Regions from separate parts of the Homo sapiens genome. Here region 1 is linked to region 2. Evidence: promoter capture Hi-C in 16 types of primary human blood cells and fetal thymus (Javierre and others, 2016). All regions are on one chromosome and are shown on one strand. The core of a region is centred on a gene start or on the middle of the fragment in contact, and the rest is flanking DNA. Distances in the headings are between cores, read along the strand shown.

Region 1 (5,785 bases), core at 143-2,642, 980 kb after region 2:
AGAGGGAGACAGGAGGGTCAGGGACCCGCAGAAGCCTCATGGTGACGGAAGCAGAGGGACGCAGAGTGGAAGATGCTCCATTGCTGCCTTTGAAGGGGCCACAAGGCAAGGAATACAGGCAGCCTCTAAAAGCTGAAATAGGCAGGAAAGAAAATGGACTCTCTCCTCCGGCCTCTGGAAAGAACACAGCCCTGCCTGCCAACCCGTTTTAGAATCCCTGACCTCTGGAACTATAAGAGAATACGTGTGTGTTGTTTTAAGCCATTAAGTTTGTGGTAATTTGCTGCATCCACCATGGGAAACTATTGCCCCTGCACAATACCCGAGGAAGGGGGTGTCCCTCGGGCCACTCAGCCCCTTACTGCTGACCCAAAGGACTCCCTGGTCTCAGGGTGTCTGTCAACTCCAGAGGTCAGTATGGTGGCTCCTGCCTGGGAGCAAATGCCTTGGTTTGGTTAACTAGTAATGATTCCTGAGGACGTGCCAGGCCAAAGGGGGCTTCAAAACCCACACAAGGTCGTTTCGTGCTGACCCTTCCAACTGCTCCCAAACAAAGGCTATTGGCATTGCCGCAGGTTGCTGCCTGATAGAAGTTTCACATTCTCTCCTTTTTTAAAAAAAAATGCATCATACCCACATACGAAGCATCCAGTGAAGGAGGCAGCACAGTATAGAAAAGAAAAGAAAAGAAAAAAAAGAAAAGAAAAGAAAAGAAAAGAAAAGAAAAGAAAAGAAAAGAAAAGAAAGCCCCAGCCCAGACTCCTGGAAACCTGATGCTAATCCTGGAGCTACTGCCCCTCTCTAAGCCTCAGTTTCCCCATCTGTACAAGGGGTTGGGACTGAGTTGCCTCCAAGGACCTAGTTTGCTGGCAGCCTCATTCCATAGTTCTAAATGCCTCCTTTCCTGTCATCAGCTTGCCTGACCTTGTGACCTGCAGCGTCAGGGATGGTCAGGGCTGATGGAGAACCGCCACATCCGGAGCCCAAAGCGGCCATCTCCTACCCTGGGGACCCGTCTGCTTGGTCTCTGCTGCCACCTGCTGGCAACTTGAAAACAAAGCCTTCCGGCTGGATCTCCGGGAAAGAAGCCCTTGGAAGAGAGGCCCTGCAAACTATTGCAACTGCCCGCCCAGACCTGACCAGCCACGCCCTTCCTTTAGGTTGGTTTTCAGGGAGCAGAAGGAAGCCCATGCAGCAACCAGAGCCCTGGATGGGAGGCTGCCTGCATCTCTCCCCATGTCTGCCTCCCGCCTCCTCTGCACTAGGAAGATGGGGTGTGGGATGCGGCAGTTTCTGAACAGTGGTTCTACTGGCCCAGCCTCTGCCTTCAGAGGATTGTAACAATAGGACAAGGGTCCCTGTGCACCCTCTCTCCAGGGTATCTCCACCACATGCTATGGGCTTCCTGGTCCCTATCCCCTTTTTCCTGTTTTCAGACATCCAGAGGCATCAGAAGGGGAGCTGTCCACACGGGATGAGCCGGACAGGACCAAGCCCGAGCATAGGCTGCATTCGGGCCTCTGTCCAGCCAGGGAGCCCACAGGCCACGTTCTCACCACAAATGAGGGGGGCACCCTCGCTGCTCGTTGTCCCCAAAAGAAAGGGTAGCTGGTAGGATAGCTACATTCAGACAATGGACAGGGCAAAGGAGACTGGGAAGTCTGCGAGCCACAGTCCCTGGCCCCGAAGTAATGCCCCTTGCCAGGCCCCTCATCTGTTTCTGAGCCACACTCGACTCTGGCTGCCCAGACAACATCCAGGCCTTTCCCCGTAGGCAGCGCTGCCAGGAGGCAGCAGTGAAGGTCCCCTTGGCTCTCTGGCCCCAGCCTCCCTCCCTGTTCCACCTTCTGCAGTTCGAGGCACTCGCTTTGGCCTCAGGACACACCTGCCTTGCTCCCTCTGCAGGCCATAACATCCCCTTCCTCTGACCTCTTCTAAAATCTCCTCTCTCACGTGGTTCCTTCATACTATGGCCCACTGGACTACTGAGCCTAATCATCCAAAAATTGAAACCCCTTTTCTTCAAGGGTGGGAAGGCTTACACATCAAACCTTCTAGTACTGCAAGAAAAAAGGAAGAAGAGGCCGGGCGCGGTGGCTCACGCCTGTAATCCCAACACTTTGGGAGGCCGAGGTGGGCAGATCACCAGAGGTCAGGAGTTCGAGAGCAGCTGGCCAACATGGTGAAACCCCGTCTCTACTAAAAATACAAAAAATTAGCCAGGCACAGTGGCACACACCTGTAATCCCAGCTACTCAGGAGGCTGAGGCACGAGAATTGCTTGAACCTGGGAGGTGGAGGTTGGAGGTTGCAGTGAGCCGAGATCAAGCCAGTGCATTCCAGCCTGGGCAACAGAGTGAGACTCCATCTCAAAAAAAAAATGAAAAAGAAAAAAGGAAGAGGAGAAGAGAAGAAAAACATAAAACACTGCCATGTTAAAATGTACATTATCACTCCAGATGCCAGAAATATCCTCATTCTGGTGTCCCAGGGGTCACGAAATTGGAACCACAGAGAAAGCAATGCAGTGGAAGCATTGCGCTGGGCCCTGTGGGGAAACACACCTACACAGCCACAATCATGCAAATGCTGTTTATTGATTTTCAGATTGTAGAATCAACCTATGGACAAAGCACAGAAGATTTAGTTTTGCTTACAGAGCAGAAGGTAGATGTTAACAACAAGGAAGATGGAAAAGTAAAGTACATCAGAACTTTAGGGATACAGTTAGCGCTGGGGGAACCCCTGCTGGGTGGAGACAAGCTCTGGGGCAGAAGAGAAGCCCAGGAAGCCCTTGGCAGTTGACTACGTGGCCCTGGGCTGGATACTTCGTCGCCCCCCTGCCCCACCCCACACACCTGGGTGGTGCTAGAGGATGTCGCTGGCGTGATAGCCCCTCCTCGTACCCGTCCTTTAGGGAGGACGAAGAGGAGGGAGAGAGTTGGAAGGGGAAGGTCCCAACGCTGCCATGCTCATCAGACACAGAAGGAGGTCACCAGACTGAGGCAGGCGGTGGAGCTTGGACACCAGACTAACTTGAAGATGAGCTAAAACAGGGGCGAGTGGAAGCGGCTTTCCCTAAGGCATGACCCCCAGGGTGCCATGTCAGTTTACCATTGCCGTGGCAACACCCTGGCATACTGCCCTGTTCCGTGGCAAAGACCCCAGGACCCAGAAGTTACTACTCCTTCCCTAGAAATCTTTGTATATGCAGCTCCTTAATCTACATGTAATTAAAAGTGGGTATAAATCTGACTGCAGAACTGCCCTGAGCTGCTGCTCGCTGCCTATGGGGTAGCCCTGCTCTGCAGGGCAGTCACAGAGCTGCAACACTGCAGCTTCAATACAGCTGTTTTGGTTTTGGTTTTGTTTGTTTTTCTTTTGTTTTTTGTTGTTGTTTTTGTTTTGTTTTGTTTTTTGAGATGAAGTTTTACTCTTGTTGACCAGGCTGGAGTGCAATGACGTGATCTTGGCTCACTGCAACCTCCGCCTCCCAGGTTCAATCAATTCTCCTGCCTCAGCCTCCCAAGTAGCTGGGATTATAGGCGCCCGCCACCACGCCCAGCTAGTTTTTTTGTATTTTTAGTAGAGATGAGGTTTCACCATGTTGGCCAGGCTGGTCTGGAACTCCTGACCTCAGGTGATCCACCCGCCTCGGCCTCCCAAAGTGCTGGGATTATAGGCGTGAGCCACCGTGCCCGACCACAGCTGTTTTCTTCTACCCTACCACTGGCGCTTGCCTTTGAAATCTTTCCTGGGGGAGGCCAAGAACCCTCTCAGGCTAAGCTCCAGTGTCGGGGCTTGCCCACCCTACATCAAGACCCACTAAAGTCAGTGGGATTCTAGAGAGCTCTAAGTGTCCTGCGTAAAGTTACAAAAATCACCGAGATGACCCCCAAATGTAACTATCCAAAATGGGGAGACAGGGAGGGGTATCAGGCATGAGAAAGGATCAGAGCATCAAATCCTCATTTGTCATTGACATGGGGTAAAATCTAGAAACTGATTTAAACAGATTACTTGGAAATAGAGAAAACTACCAGAAGAATTAAAAACAGGGTCAATTAAAACCATGGCACGGAAGGAATGAGAGGGGTAGAGGAGAAAACTACTTTTATTCATAAGCTCTTCTGTACCCTTGGGATTGTTTTTTTTTTTTTTTTTACCATGGGTGTGTCTGACTTTGATTTCAAAAATTAATTTTAAATTTTAAAAAGTGACACCACGATCCTGGTCAATCGAACCAGAAGTGACCAGGCCACTTGCTCCCTGCCTGGGTGGCTGTGGGCCTCAGGGGGCTCAGTGCTGCAGCGAGTGCCCTGGGGACGGGGGTGGCTCTGTGGCTGGCTCTGCAGGGGGCCCTGCGGACAGCTCTGCAGATGGTGCTGTGGGTGGCTCTGCAGGTGGCTCTGTGGATGACTGTGCGGGTGGCTCTGTGGGTGGCTCTGCGGGAGGCTGCGTGGCACCCTGGCTCAGCATGTTCCGGCAGCGCAGCCGCTCCTCCTCCTGCTTCTCCGCCATGCGGTTCTCCAGCAGCCTCAGCTCCCTGCGCACCGCCTTCTGCATGGACGGCTCCAGCTCCAGCACTTTCTGGAGGTCCGCCTTGGCCTCGGCCTCATTCCACACCTCTGCGTGAGCCCGGGCACGCACGTAGTAGGCCTTCACGATGCCTGTGGGGAGCAGGGAGCATCCAGCTACAGCTCCCTTCCCAGCCTCAGAGGCAGCCCCAGCCCAGCTGGGACTCACCAGCCTCCAAGACCCTCAGCCCCGCCATGATCCTTAACCTCTCTGTATCCCCCATCCCTCGGTTTCCTCAACTGTAAGATGGAGATGATGATCATAATAGCAGTACCTCCTCCTCTCCTTTTTAAGGCCCTGTGAGTAATTTTATATTCATAACTTTGTTTTATTTTTCTTATAGACGCTACCTAAATTAGATAACCTTCAGGCCCTTTCCCTGCACCTCCCTCATATGGTGATTATGAGGATTATGAGGATTAAATGAGATAATAAACGCAGACGACGTGTGCCTGATGCATGAGCCAGGGGCTGGATGTTTTTACTGTGAGCACGATTCGAGCATTAAGTCAATACTAGTACTGACGGTGCCATATCCTCGCAACACCAGTACTAGTACCGACATCATAATATTTTTCCCTATATTGATTGCCCCTCTTTTTTAAACGCCTGTTTACCGTTCCGCTGAAATCACAAGCTTGGCGAGCTTCCTGGGTAAGTGTTCAAACACACATTAAAATAAAGGGCCGCCCCGCGCCAAGCACTGCCCATCCATCACCCACAATTCAGTTACACACTCGGGGAAACCCGGCTGGGTGGAGACAAGGTTTGGTGCCCTGGTGGGGTGGAAAGAAAAGTCCAGGAAGGCTATGGCAGGTGTCTCCGTGGCCCTGGGCTGGGCGCCCCCTCACTGTCCGCCCCTGCAGCCCCGCGCACCTGGGTGGTGCCGGAGAATATCACTGGTGTGCTCCAGCACCTCATAGTACTCCTCCTTCTTCAGCAGGCACTGGCAGTAGTTGAGGATCAGAGTATTGATCATCTTCTCCAGCTTCAGCCACTGCACCTCCCATGGCTTCTCCTGCCCAGGGAGAAGGTCAGCCATGACCTCAGGCAGCTGCCCAACCCCCGCCCCACCCTGGCCGGCACTGGGCAGGCCCCCCAGAGTCAGCGCCACTTCCCACCCCTGGCCAGCGGCCTCTGACCTTGGTCTGCAGGTTCCTTAGGCAGATGATGGCCTCCTGGTACTTGGAAGAGGCCTCCTCGTAGC
Region 2 (5,435 bases), core at 2,909-5,408:
AAACAGACAAGGCATGGTTTTAACCGAGCAGGTTAACACATAAACATGGAAATCTGCTACAGTTAAAAAGGCGTATTGAAACAATGTCTCTGTCCTAGCTGGCTGAATTATATGCAGAACTTCAAACTAGGCTGGGTGCCTACATCCAATCCTGAGTGACTCAGCAGGTCTGAAGTGTGCCTACCATGTACCAGCTGCTGGAAGCCAAAGCTGGCCTCAGTTTATCTCAGCCAAACAAGTCATGCATGGGTTACTCCCAACAGGGCCAGTACCCCAGGGCTCACTGCCATGTGCTGACTGGGCATCTCATGGCCACAGCCAGCTGACACTGCCCACCCTGGTCTTTCCAGGGAACCCTTGGTCAAAGTAAGGACCTGAGAGGCTGGTGAGATGGAACAGAAGCCCCTTTAAGAGACTTTCCCCGTCAGAAAATTTGCCCTGCAAGGAAAGGAAGAAGCGATGGAGGGTGCCTCTGCTAAACACCGAGAGCAGCCCTGGAACGGGGAAGGGAATGCCTCACAAAGAACAAGGGCTGTAGTAGAGACTCATCCCTTAGAGTACTTGTGGGAAGTTTCATAATCACAAAGCAGGCCAGACACACCAACTAGTGACAATTTTAAGGTGCAAGAATCCACACCTGACAAATCATGTTCCAAAGTTTGAGTCAAAATTCTTGGGACATAAGGTTTAGAACCAAAACTGCTGGGCTATGCAACTCTGGCAGGCACCATTCCACACAAGAGTACATGAAGGCTGGGCGCAGTGGCTCACGCCTGTAATCCCAGCACTTTGGGAGGCCGAGGTGGGCAGATCACGAGGTCAAGAGATCGAGACCATCCTGGCCAACACGATGAAACTCCATCTCTACTAAAAAATACAAAAAAAAAAAAAAAAAAAAAATTAGCTGGGCGTGGTGGTACGCGCCTGTAATCCCAGCTACTCAGGAGGCTGAGGCAGGAGAATTGCTTGAACCTGGGAGGTGGAGGTTGCAGTGAGCCGAGATCACGCCACTGCTCTCCAGCCTGGAGACACAGCAAGACTCTGTCAGAAAAAAAAAAAAAAAAAAAAGAGTACATGAAGTGCCGCCCTCCACTTGTGCTAACTAGCTGCTCTGCCAGGAAGCCACCTTTCCATGGCAACAGAGGCAGTCTGAGGTTGACAAAATCTGTCTAATTCCAACTGTGCTGACTAAGCTGAGCTCCTGGGCACAGAAATTGAATGACGTTCATCAGAGCATTATTTTTAATGGCCCCCAAATAGCTATGAAAACCTTGCGCAAATGGTGTTTAGGTGAGATTACAGAAGACACAATTGACCTGTGTAGGGCAAAAACACACTATGCAACAGGCAAGAGAATCAGGACCCTACTTCACACCATATTCAAAATGAATCACAGACCTAAACTAAGAGCTAAAACTAGAAAACTTTGAAAAAATTAAGGCATACATCTTCACAACCTTGGGTTAGGCAGTGGTTTCTTAGACGTGACACTAAAAAAGCACAAGTTGCACTTGGTGAATTAGAAGCAAAGTAAAAAATAAATAAAAAAGCACAAGCGACCAAAAAAATAGGTAAACTGAACTTCCTCAAAATTAAAAACTTTTGTGTCAGAGGACATTACCAAGAAAGTGAAAAGGAAACCCACAAGATGGGAAACAGTACTTACAAATCATTAATTTGATAAGATAGTTGTACCCAGAAAAACTTAACTTTTACAACCCAACAATTAAAAAGGTAAATAGGGTGGGCAGGGTGGCTCACACCTGAAATCCCAGCACTTTGGGAGGCCAAGGCGGGCGGATCACGAGGTCAGGACTTTGAGACCAGCCTGGCCAACACGGTGAAACCCTGTCTCTACTAAAAATACAAAAATTAACCGGACGCACGCCTGTAATCCCAGCTAAGGAGGCTGAGGCAGGAGAATTGTCAGAACCTGGGAGGCAGAGGTTGCAGTGAGCCAAGATCGCACCACTGCACTCCATCCTGGGTGACAGAGCAAGACTCCGTGGGGTTGGGGGGGGAAGCTACAAATTGTATGACTCCATTTATATGAAATGTCCAAAAGAGGCAATCCCATAGAGAAAGTAGCTTAGTGATTACCTGGGGTGGCTACAGGGAGGAATAATGAGTGACTGCTAATAGGTATTGTTTGGGGATGACAACAGTGTTCTAGAATTAGGTAGTGATAACTGATGCATAATTCTGCGAGGACTAAGAACCACTTAATTTAATAAACTTCAATAAATGGGTAAATCGTATGCCATCTCAATTAAATCTCATAAAAGCTGTGATTTAAAAAAATTACATACACATCATAAGGTCAATTATGAAGGAAATTCAATTTATTTATTTATTATTGAGATGGCGTCTTGCTCTGTTGCCCAGGCTGGAGCGCGGTGGCGCGATCTCGACTCACTGCAACCTCCACCTCCCAGGTTCAAGCGATTCCCCTGCCTCAGCCTCCCGAGTAGCTGGGACTACAGGCACGTGCCACCATACCCGGTTAATTTTTACTAGAGCCAGGGTTTTAGTGTTAGCCAGGATTTTCTCCTGACCTCATGATCTGCCCGTCCCAAAGTGCTGGGATTATGGGTGTGAGCCACCGCGCCCAGGCTCAATTTAAAAACCTGGAAGATGCCAAATGTTTATCTGTGTAATGAGATTATGGATGACTATAATGCAGAAAAGTGTAAACACTTTAACAGTTTAGGAGATGATGGGGGAGCTGACTTAGGTCACAAACTCCCCACCTCTGATGGCAGCCCTTACTACAGTGTAACCCCATCCTGTTACATAGAAGTTACATATTTTTCATTTTCACCCATACTAAACATTAGAGAGCAGTGTCCTATTTTATCAGGGCTGTAAATCAGAGATCAAACTGATTCTGCCAGTACTTTTTTGCACTACATTTTTGTCTCCTTAGTAACCAGCCCACAGCAAATTTGTGTTCGGTGAATGGACTGCCTGGGGCTTACGAAGTTGTCCAAATGAATCCTTCACTCTCTTGAAACCCATTTATCAAAGTATCCACACCTGAACTCAAGGCTCTTCTGGGGATGACCCAGGATGGGTCCTGCAAGGTTAAGGGAGTTGCTGCCCTGGGATCCCCAGACCAGTACTTACTTTTCCCCGGCAACTTTCCGCACTAATTTCGCTTCTGTCCCATTCAGTTCCAGCTCCCAACCTCCAGACATCTTAGGGAGGGTTTTATGCTTCTGAATTTTTCTTTCCTCCTTAATTTCATCACTCAGGAAATCAACAAAAGCTTTGTCTCCTAGAAAAGAAATCCAGATACATAAAAAGGAAAGCCAGTTAGTCTAAAACATAAAACTATTACCCAGGTTATTGCAGCCAGAAACCTGGACTGTTTCTAATCTCTCTGCTATTACGGTTACTCTAGAAGCCTGTTTCCTTATCGGTAAAAATACCATAATAGTAGTAGGAAGCTGAGCCTGATTCTGGAAAAGTGATTTCCAACAATGAACGCATTACCACTTTCCGCTATAAACCAGGAGAATTTCCAATCCTCTTCCACTTGCCAAACGATATAACTATGCTATTTTCAACCACGACCATGGGCCTTCCCAAAGGTCCACTTTCGATAGAATAAGACTAAGGAAAAAGGTACCCTAGTATTTAATTTTATTCACCCCCTACCAAAAGAAAACGAAACTGCTGGATAGGGGAGGTGGGGGAAATATGATCATACGTGGGTTTAGCCCGCTGGTTGCCAATCAATGGAAAAATGTCCCAGACCTCAGAGGTCGGTTGCAGGCCCTATTCCTGGTCTACGTTTTCCCTCTGTTGAACGCAAACCACACCCCCGGCCCGCTAAACCTCACCGTCGGTGTGCAGCGAGCCGCAGCCACAGCCACAGGCGCAGGGTCCGCGAGGCCGCAGGAGGCCCGGCCGCCGCTCGGAACCTGCGCGCACGCTGAGCAGCCCGAAGGGCCGGGTGCACAGCCGGGGTGCCGGCTGCAGGAGCTGCCGGAAAGGCGAGGCGGGCGCGGCAGCGCGGAGGCCGGCGACGGAGGAGCCCAGCACACGGGGCACGCAGCGCAGCAGAGGCAGCATCGCGGAAACGACTGCGAACACGTGCAGATGCAAAGGACAACCCAGGCCTAGGCGCCCCGCGACCTGAGGCGCCGCCGGAAGCCCCGCCCCTGCCCGGAAGCGCTTCCCGCGCCGGCGCTCTGACGACCTAAGGCCAGCGGGCGGAATCGCGCCCTCTGCTGGAGACTCCGGTGCAGCCCGGGAAGCCTCGAATCCGGATTCCGGAGCTTTCTTGCTGCGCTGCCGAGTCCGCTGTCCGAAGCTGTTTAATTCCCTCTAGTGGCCGCTTACCCACTTTCCACCTGCTGTTCTCAAAGCACGCAAGGCTTTTGGGCTGCGTGGAATGCACTCTTGTCTCCCGCCAGCTCTCACCAGACCCTTCCACGGTCACTTTCCTCTAGGAGGCTGTGGTGTTATGATATATATATGTATTGGTTTTCATCCACAGTTCCTGGGTCGTAACTCCTATAGCCCTTGTTACAATGTTCTGTGATAATGTTGGGTGTGTTAGGCCTCAGGAAACAGACTCTCCCCTTCTCCTGCCCTCCTTTTACCTGCCCCAAAGCAGGACTCTAATCTCCTTCCACATTTCTGATTATGGGTCTTAAGTCCCTTCCCAGAGAAGGTCCCACCATATACCCTGGGGGAAGGGATGCTGATGTCCAGAAGCTTCCATAAAAACCCAAGAGGAGAGGGTTTGCAGAGCCTCTGACAGCTGAATACGTAGAGGTTCCTGGAGGGTGGTGGCCCAGGGTAGGCAAGGAACCTCGGAGCTTCTTCCCCATTCCCCACCCTGCTCATCTCATCTGTATCCTTGGTCATATCCTTTATATGAAACCGGTGAATGTGTTTCCCTGAGTTCTGTGAACTGCTCCAGTGAGTTAACATAATCCAAAGAGGGGGGTCGTGGGAACCCCAACTTGAAGCGGGTTGGTCGGAAGTTTCAGAGGCCCAGACTTGCCATTGCTGTCTGAAGGTGGGGGCGGTCTTGGGGACTGAGCCCTCAACCTATGGGATCTGACACTATCTCCAGGTAGATACTGTTGGGATTGAATTGGAGGACACCCAGCTGGTGTCTGCTGCTTAGTGTGGAGGGGAAAAACCCAAACCTTTGGCCACATAAGTCTTCTGTGTTGATTGTTGTGTTGTGAGAGCAAAGGAAAGTCTGAGGGTTTTCCTGAAAGAGGCCTTCTAGAACCTTTTTTTCCACCGGCTCGGAACTCATGCTTGTGCGCACCCAGCCCATATGCTTCATTCTCTTTTCAACAGGAACCTCCTAGCGTTGCTGCTTTAACCAGGTTAAACCCAACCAGACTGTGACATCCTCAAGGGCAGGATCCATGATTAATTTTTGTGACCTTCCCTCTCTGCACCTCCAA

What was found. Contacts are between HindIII fragments. The CHiCAGO score rates a contact against its expected background, and 5 or more counts as called.
Region 1: a fragment that was not itself captured here is called in contact with the fragment with the promoter of C1QBP in region 2 in 4 of 17 cell types (M2 macrophages, M0 macrophages, endothelial precursors and 1 more); the score reaches 6.0 in M2 macrophages.

What each region holds. Positions count from the first base shown.
Region 1 is chr17:6,421,161-6,426,945 of GRCh38, forward strand. It overlaps AIPL1 (AIP like 1 HSP90 co-chaperone), which reads right to left. Exons shown (of 6, transcript NM_014336.5): 4 at 5,721-5,785; 5 at 5,455-5,596; 6 at 2,578-4,670. The coding sequence ends at 4,300. Among named protein-coding and RNA genes, the nearest start is that of AIPL1, 11 kb to the right of the region's middle. The HindIII fragment of the contact is 7,641 bases long and covers 1-5,213 here.
Region 2 is chr17:5,434,997-5,440,431 of GRCh38, forward strand. C1QBP (complement C1q binding protein) reads right to left here and starts at 4,159. Exons shown (of 6, transcript NM_001212.4): 1 at 3,846-4,159; 2 at 3,127-3,277. The coding sequence starts at 4,077. RefSeq lists silencers at 3,826-3,875, 3,986-4,155, 4,134-4,316 and an enhancer at 4,376-4,555. The HindIII fragment of the contact is 1,457 bases long and covers 3,267-4,723 here.